2 separate regions of the Homo sapiens genome follow, and region 1 is linked to region 2. The links are contacts of gene promoters, found by promoter capture Hi-C in blood cells and fetal thymus (Javierre and others, 2016). All regions are on one chromosome and are shown on one strand. Each heading gives the region's core, a stretch centred on a gene start or on the middle of the fragment in contact. The rest is flanking DNA. Distances are from core to core; before and after follow the strand shown.

Region 1 (3,852 bases), core at 250-2,749, 1.3 Mb before region 2:
AGGTGCCCGCCACCATGCCCGGCTAATTTTTTGTATTTTTTTTTAGTAGAGACGGGGTTTCACCGTGTTAACCAGGATGGTTTCGATCTCCTGACCACGTGATCCACCTGCCTCGGCCTCCCAAAGTGCTGGGATTACAGGCGTGAGCCACCATGCCCAGCCTTCTCACCCTCTTTAACCCCAAGGTTGAAAGTGTCAGGTATGATACTTGTTTTTTTCATAAATTCTCAAATAGACCTATTTTAATATGGCACTCAAAAGACCTCTCTTGGAAGTTTCATTACACCTTTTTGGTATACTTTTGGAAGTACTTTTGGTACCTTTTGGAAGACTTAACTTGTTCTCTTTAACCTCCTATTTATTACAGAAGCATGTAGGCATTAGCTTTTATTCCTAGGGCATTAATATCTTTTTCCAGCTTTATTTTTTAGTATGCAGATATATAGATGAAGATGTAGAAGTGTTTTGTAGAAGAGCCGTTTACCTGGAAACCTATAGTGAAAAAGTTTCGTATGGTGCATTTTATTCTTCATTTTGTCTGGACATTTGAAGACCAAGAAAGAACATTATAAAATGGGCAGGGAAATGGTGGCTGTTTAGATACAGTATCAGTAGTTTGCTTTGTGGCTTCAAGTTTATAATCTTTCAAAATAGAATCGTGTATCCATTGAGCAATTTCAAAAGCTCCATAGTTGACCCCATGGCTTCTCGGGTAGGGCATGTGAATTTGTTCTTTCTGAAAATGTGTCCCCTTCCTCTGTGTAGCACTCAATCTCATTCCCTTTTTAGTGTCCTGGTGAAGACCTAGTTCTTGCCGGAGACAATTCCACTGCAGAAGCACTTTACTTAAAAGGACTTGCCAGGCTGGACAATGCCCGTTGACTTGGGGCAGGCCCTAGGCCTGCTGCCATCGCTGGCGAAGGCCGAGGACTCCCAGTTCTCAGAATCAGATGCTGCCCTTCAAGAGGAACTCTCCAGCCCTGAGACCGCACGCCAGCTTTTCAGGCAGTTCCGTTACCAGGTGATGTCTGGGCCTCATGAGACCTTGAAGCAACTTCGGAAGCTCTGTTTCCAGTGGCTACAGCCAGAGGTTCACACCAAAGAGCAGATCCTAGAGATCCTCATGTTGGAGCAGTTTCTGACCATCCTGCCTGGGGAGATCCAGATGTGGGTGCGGAAACAGTGTCCAGGAAGTGGAGAAGAGGCAGTGACCCTTGTGGAAAGCTTGAAGGGGGACCCCCAGAGACTGTGGCAATGGGTAAGCAGAGGGTATTATGATCTGCGAGTGAAACACAGGGCTCCTCTCTGGTCCCATCAGGTGTGTTGTCTTTTTTCTGATACCACTTATGACACAAAATGGGTGGGGCTTTTCACACCAATGGCCAATTCTGTGATTCTCTAACACCAGTACAGTGTCCAGCAATTCAGTTCTGAAGCTAACTCTGGAGGTTCAGGGCTCAATCCAAGACTGCTCCTGTTCTCAGATGCCAGTCACAAGTCCCAGGGGCCACCTGTACTTCTGACAAATTGGCTATAAATTCGGAGGTTCCCACAGTCTTCTCTTCAAGTTTGATAATTAGTTAGAATGACTTACAGAACTCAGGGAAGGATTTTACTTCCTGTTACTGACTTACTCTAAAGGATACAACTCATTAACAGCCAGAGAGAAGAGCTGCATAGAGCAAGGTGTGGGGGAAAGAGCGTGGAGCTTCCATGCTTCTCCTGGCGTGCTACGTTACCAGTACCTCCATGAGGTCACCAACCTGGAAGCTTCCTGAACCTCATGGTTTAGGGATTTTTATGGAGGCTTCACTGCTTTGGCACACTTGATACAGTCATTTGCCGTTGGTGATTGAGTATCTCCAGCTGCCCTCCCCTCCTCAGAAGCTGGGTGGAGATACTGAAAGTTCCAACCTTTTAATCTCAAGGTTGGTTCCTCTGGCAACCAGCCCCCATCCTGAAGCTATCTAGGAGCCTAGCATAAACTCAGGTGTGGTTGAGAAGGGCTCCTTATGAATAACAAAGACTCTTCTTTCACCTGTCCCTCAAGAAATTACCAGGGTTTTAGGAGCTCTGCGGGAATGGGAACTGGGGACAAAGACTAAATGTGTATTTCTTATTATACCACAGCTGGGTTCCCCCATACCTCACGTAATTCTAACACTCTCTGACTCTCAACACTCTTTAGCTATTGAGGATTGAGGGTAAAGTCTCCCAGCGCATTCCACCTTTAGACTAGAATGTTTGAGAAGTTATTTAAAAGATGCCTGAGTTTTCATTGGTGGCGCATATCCAGTAGAAGCACGTTAGTGGCATGTCTTGAAGGTCTCCCACGCCTGATTCGGGCCTCAGCTTTTGGTGTCTTTTGGGACGTTTCTTTCCCTGGTTCCTGCTGGACTAGAAATAAAAGCTGGTTTTCTCTTTCTCCACATCCTTAGAAATTGTCTTATGATCTGTTGTAGAGAGTAAGCTTTGTGTCTTTTAGAGATCCTTACTCTGGATTCTTCAGTAATTACTAATTAATATATGGTCTCTAGATCAGTATCCAGGTTCTAGGACAGGACATCTTATCAGAGAAGATGGAATCTCCAAGCTGCCAAGTGGGGGAAGTGGAGCCCCATCTTGAAGTGGTGCCTCAGGAGTTGGGACTTGAGAATTCATCCTCAGGGCCTGGGGAGCTTCTGAGCCACATCGTGAAAGAGGAATCTGACACAGAAGCAGAACTAGGTGAGGATGGTGCTGTGTGGTGTTCTCTTGGAGAGATTTTGGGATTGTGATTAGTAGGCCTAAGTGAGTTGAAATGGTATGCTGCTCAGATTGGCGTATCCCTGAGAGGTTTGCAAACAGGTTAGACCTAAATAAACCGCTCTTGTTTGGAGAGTCAAAGTCTGTGTTTTAAACTGCTTTATGACTGGGCCAGACCATTTGGATTTTGGCTCTGAGGAAGGAGGTGGGAGAACATATGGGTGAGACTGGAATGTTGGAGGGGGTTGGAGTGTGTCAGGGAGATAAACACAAGTCTTGAAATATAGATGGCAGTACAGGTATTGTTCAGGTATTGTTCTGATTTGTGAAGATTGTTATCTGCGCCCTCTGGGGAGTGGTTAAGGAAGACATCCAGATTCTGAAAACTTCCTCTCCTCACTTCAGCCCTGGCTGCCTCCCAGCCTGCCCGACTGGAGGAAAGGCTGATCAGAGACCAGGACCTCGGAGCCTCACTGCTCCCAGCAGCACCTCAGGTGAGCTGACGTACAAAAGCGATGAAAAGGAAACTTTTTACCTTTTATAATCTCATCCTCCTGCTTCTCTTCACCCCATTCTCCATCCTGAGGAAACCTCTGATCTGCTGTCTGTCACCATATGTTAGTTTACTTTTTCTAGAGTTTTGTAAAAATAGAATCATGCCAAATGTACTCTTATCTTTGTTCTTATGCATATAATGTGTATATATATACATATATATATATTTGCTTATTTCAGTGTATTCTCATTTTTTAAAACAATTTGATTTTGATGTGCCTTGGAGTCATTTTCACATTTCATGTAATTGGGATTTATTGAGTTTCCTAGCTCTGTGGGTGTATGGTTTTCACTAAACTTGGAAAATTTTTGGCCATTATTTCTAAAGCATTTTTTTTTCTGTCTCGCTTATTTCTCCTCTCCTTTAAGGACTTGGGAAATAATACCTGTGGAATGTGTATAATGATAATGTATATACATGTATCAGAGCTCTTCAAGTTGTCCCACAGCTTACTGATTGTTTTTCTGTTTTTGAAGTCTTGGTGTTTTATTTTGGACAATTTCTGTATGTCTTAAAGTTCATTAATCTTTTCTTTTATAGTATCTGATCTG
Region 2 (4,058 bases), core at 228-2,727:
GGGTGCAGGGGGAATGCAAGTCAGCCCCTAGCACTCTCGCTCTCATTTTTTTCTTTTATGTAAGGAAAAGCACAGTGAGAATAGTCTTCGCTTGTTTCCAATCCCAGGGCTGATTTAGCTGTGGAACTCCACCCAGTGCTGGTCCCCGCTGTCCCCACCCCACCTCTGCAAACACGGGTGCCCACCCCCGCCAGCCGCCAGGCTCCCTGCCTAGTCCCGGCACGGGACCTTCACGGTCCCAGCACCAGGCACAGAGCAGACAACGTTCTTGAAATAAGTGTTTCGTGAAAAGAATGAAACTGAGAGGGAAAGAAAAAAAAAACTAGACAGTTTTAGGAGATTTAGCTCAAAGGAAAAGAGGACAGGCACAGAAGCTCCTGATTTGAAGCGATAAAGACTCTTTAGAACAGCAGAAATGAGGCCTATGGATGTGTAAATGAGCCCGGGGAGGAACTAAGCAGAAGGGCGAATTACAAAACAGAAAAAGACCAGACAGACTAGGGGAGAACAGTGAATATTTCAGTGTCTTCGGTTCATAAGAAATTCATGAGCAATTTTGGAAATTTTGTTGGTTTTGGTGGTGGGAGAGAATTGTAAATATGTATAATATGTAAATATCTTTTATAATAAAAGCCCATGAAGATAAATGAGCCTGTCTGCCGAAAAGCTGTGAGCCGTATAAGATGTTAATATAACTGTCGTCACTCTAGAAATTACCATAATGCTTACAGGGATTTGAAAGTTCCTGAGCTTTGGAAGGAAATGCATAAATACTAAACAGAACACACACACACACACACACACACACACACACACACACACACACATCTCTTTTTCTTTCTCTTTCTTATTTTTGTAAAAACAATTTTTATCCTTTTTTTTTTGAGGAGTCTCGCTTTGTTGCCCAGGCTGGAGTGCAGTGGCACAATCTGGGCTCACTGCAACCTCCGCCGCCCGGGTTCAAGCAATTCTCCTGCCTCAGCCTCCTGAGTAGCTGGGATTACAGGCTCCCGCCACCACGCCCGACTAATTTTTTCGTATTTTTAGTAGAGATACGGGGTTTCACCATGTTGGCCAGGCTGCTTTCGAACTCCTGACCTCAGGTGATCCGCCCACCTCGGCCTCCCACAGTGCTGGGATTACAGGCGTGAGCCACTGCGCCCAGCCCTTTCTTTCCTTCTTTCTTTTTCTTTCTTTCTCTTTCTTCCTCTCTCCCCTCCCGCCTGCCTTCCTTCCTTTTTTCCTTCTTTTTTTTCTTTCTTCTTTTTTTTTTTTTTTGTGAGGAAGGTAGCTTTAGTGAAAACAGGGTTTGGAGTTGAACCTATACGGGTTCAAATTCGACTTCCGTCCACCACCGAGACCTGCGCTCCCTGAGGGACTCGCTTTCCCATCCGCGAAACCAGGACGGCGCCGCCTACACCCCGCGGCGTTCGGGGCGGGCTGAATGGGTCGCTGAGTGGGGGCTACACCCACGCCCTTCGCTCCCCGCCCCCGGGCGGAGCGACGGCCACGGCAGTGTCCCCAAGGCACCGAAACCGAGGCGGGGGTCTCGGTCCCTCCGCGCAAGGAGGAAGGCGGACCGTACGTGGCAGGACTCACCGCCCCGCACGTGGCAGGACTCACCGCCCCGCGCCGTGTTCTCCGAGCCATGGCGCCAGCGCTGTGGCGGGCCTGCAACGGACTCATGGCCGCCTTCTTCGCGCTGGCGGCCTTGGTGCAGGTCAGGCGGCCGCGGTGGGAGGGGGACCCGCCCGGCTCCCAGCTCCGCCCCCTGGCCTAGCGGGCCGTGTAACTGACTAGCGGGCAGAGTCGCAGGGGCGCACAGTTAGTGGGGAGGACGGGACTTGGGCTTTCTGCTTGGGGAGCCCCCACTTTCTCCCCCGTCTAAGAGACGCGGATGTGTTCATGGAAGCGAGTCCCATACCAGGGCTCACACCCTGGAAGGGGCTGGTTCCGCGCGTGGAACTTCCCAGGGGACCTCAGAAGAAGCGGCCCTGGCTCCTGCGTTAACGTCCGGCCCGCGGACGACACTGAACATATCTCAGGGCCTAGGAGACGAAGCCGACCAAAACCCTTTATAGCATCATTAAACTTTTTAGTCGGCTTGGGGACCCCCTTCATAATCATTTCCCTCATTTCTTGAGACTGGTGGGGGTGGAGGGCCCTTAAAATACCCGTTCTGGGTTGGCGAGTCCTCTCCAGAGCTCCCGTGAAGGCTTTTCAAAAATGTGTGGCTGCCTGTTAAAAACATCTGTTGTGTCAGCCAGAAACCCCTTCACCCGTCCTCATCTGGACTATATCCTGTTCAGATTTTGTACCCTCGATGCCTATTGCAGTGTCTGGCACTTAACAAATTAATAAAAAATGTGCTTAAATGAATTTAAAAGGAATGGAACAGCACAGGATGTCTGCTAACACCTTGGTATTCTGGCGTTCCAGGTAAATGACCCAGATGCAGAGGTGTGGGTGGTGAGTATGAGCCGCTTCCAGGCTTTCCTCCGTTTGGAAGAATTGGGGAACGGCACAAAACACACGGTTTTATGTCTTTACCCCTCCTCCCTGCTTAATTTTCTGAGAAACTTAAAAATCAAACCCTTGGGAAGCGCTTTTTCCTAAAATATTAATAGGCAGGATCAGAGTTCTAATGTAATGTGTGTGTGAATTTCGAACTTTCTGGAAACAGGTCTTTCTGCAGTATTCCCTTTGGTTAGATGGCCCAACTGAGGACTTTCTTGAGGACCTAGAGTAGGCCTCTCAAGATCAGTTGAACAATTCCTTATGAGTTTCTAGCCAGACACTCAATGCAAACCTTTGACCGGAAAATAACAGGCTTAAGTTCTGAGGTTCTGCTAATTCAGTGACTTATATTTCTAGAAAGTATTAACTCCTGGCTGGGCAAGGTGGCTCACGCCTGCAATCTCAGCACTCTGGGAGGCCAAGGCGGGTGGATCACTTGAGGTCAGGAGTTCTAGATCAGCCTGAGCAACATGGTGAAACCCCGTCTCCACCAAAAAATACAAAAATTAGCCAGGCGTGGTGGCATGCGCCTGTAGTCCCCAGCTACTAGGGAAGCTGAAGCAGGAGACTCGCTGGAACCCAGGAGGCAGAAGTTGCAGTGTGCTGAGATCGTGCCACTGCACTCCAGTCTGGGCGACAGAGTGAGACTCCATCTCAAAAAAAAAAAAGCAAAGAAAAAAAAGAAAAAAAAAAAGCAAAGAAAAGTATTAAATCCTGTAAAACCTACAGTCTTCATATAAGCAAGGCTCTGATTTGAACCATTTGGAGGAGGGGGCCATTGTTCCATACATCTTCTAAATATCTTTTTTTTTTTTTCTTTTTGAGACGGAGTTTTGCTCTTGTTGCCCAGGCTGGAGTGCAATGGCGCAATCTAGGCTCACCGCAACCTCTACCTCCCAGGTTTGAGTGATTCTTCTGCCTCAGTGTCCCAAGTAACTGGGATTACAGGCATGCGCCACCACACCCAGCTAATTTTGTATTTTTAGTAGAGACAGGGTTTCTCCATGTTGGTCAAGCTGGTCTTGAACTCTCGACCTCAGGTGATCCACCTGCCTCAGCCTCCCAAAGTGCTGGGATTACAGACATGAGTCACCGCGCCCGGCTCTAAATATCTTTTATCTTCCAAAATATCTGAATTTTGCCCAGTTTCTCTCAATATAGATACACAAGACTGTACAGTACACCAAGGAGATGACTCTTAAGCTTTAGAATAATATTGACAGAGGAGCAACAAGGATGATGGTATCTGGAATTATAACATGAAATTCTATCCAGGTTTTGTTTTTTTAGTGCAGTAAAACCACATTCTGATATTTACTATCCAGATCAGTATGCCTCTGAATCAAATCAAACTGCCTTTGCCTTGGCACCCTGGTCCGTATCTTGAATTCCAAATATTATTTCCCTGCAGACAAGTCTCAGACATCCAGCTTAATGGTGAATTTCCAAAAGACTGCTGCGTATATTCACCTGCATGTCACACTGCTCCTCAGATATGCCCAAGGACCTACCTAGCATCTTTCCCTCCAAAATCTACTTAT

Evidence for each region. Contacts are between HindIII fragments. The CHiCAGO score rates a contact against its expected background, and 5 or more counts as called.
Region 1: a fragment that was not itself captured here is called in contact with the fragment with the promoter of TMEM220 in region 2 in 4 of 17 cell types (endothelial precursors, M0 macrophages, megakaryocytes and 1 more); the score reaches 10.1 in endothelial precursors.

Annotation. Positions count from the first base shown.
Region 1 is chr17:11,989,849-11,993,700 of GRCh38, reverse strand. It overlaps ZNF18 (zinc finger protein 18), which reads left to right. Exons shown (of 7, transcript NM_001303281.2): 2 at 790-1,258; 3 at 2,538-2,727; 4 at 3,151-3,239. The coding sequence starts at 872. Among named protein-coding and RNA genes, the nearest start is that of ZNF18, 5.7 kb to the left of the region's middle. RefSeq lists an enhancer at 1,756-2,410. The HindIII fragment of the contact is 546 bases long and covers 1,227-1,772 here.
Region 2 is chr17:10,727,442-10,731,499 of GRCh38, reverse strand. TMEM220 (transmembrane protein 220) reads left to right here and starts at 1,477. Exons shown (of 6, transcript NM_001004313.3): 1 at 1,477-1,720; 2 at 2,440-2,469. The coding sequence starts at 1,649. TMEM220-AS1 (TMEM220 antisense RNA 1) reads right to left here and starts at 1,723. Exons shown (of 4, transcript NR_073458.1): 1 at 1,600-1,723. RefSeq lists enhancers at 852-1,438, 1,439-2,025 and silencers at 1,419-1,658, 1,669-1,838. The HindIII fragment of the contact is 4,877 bases long and covers 1-3,722 here.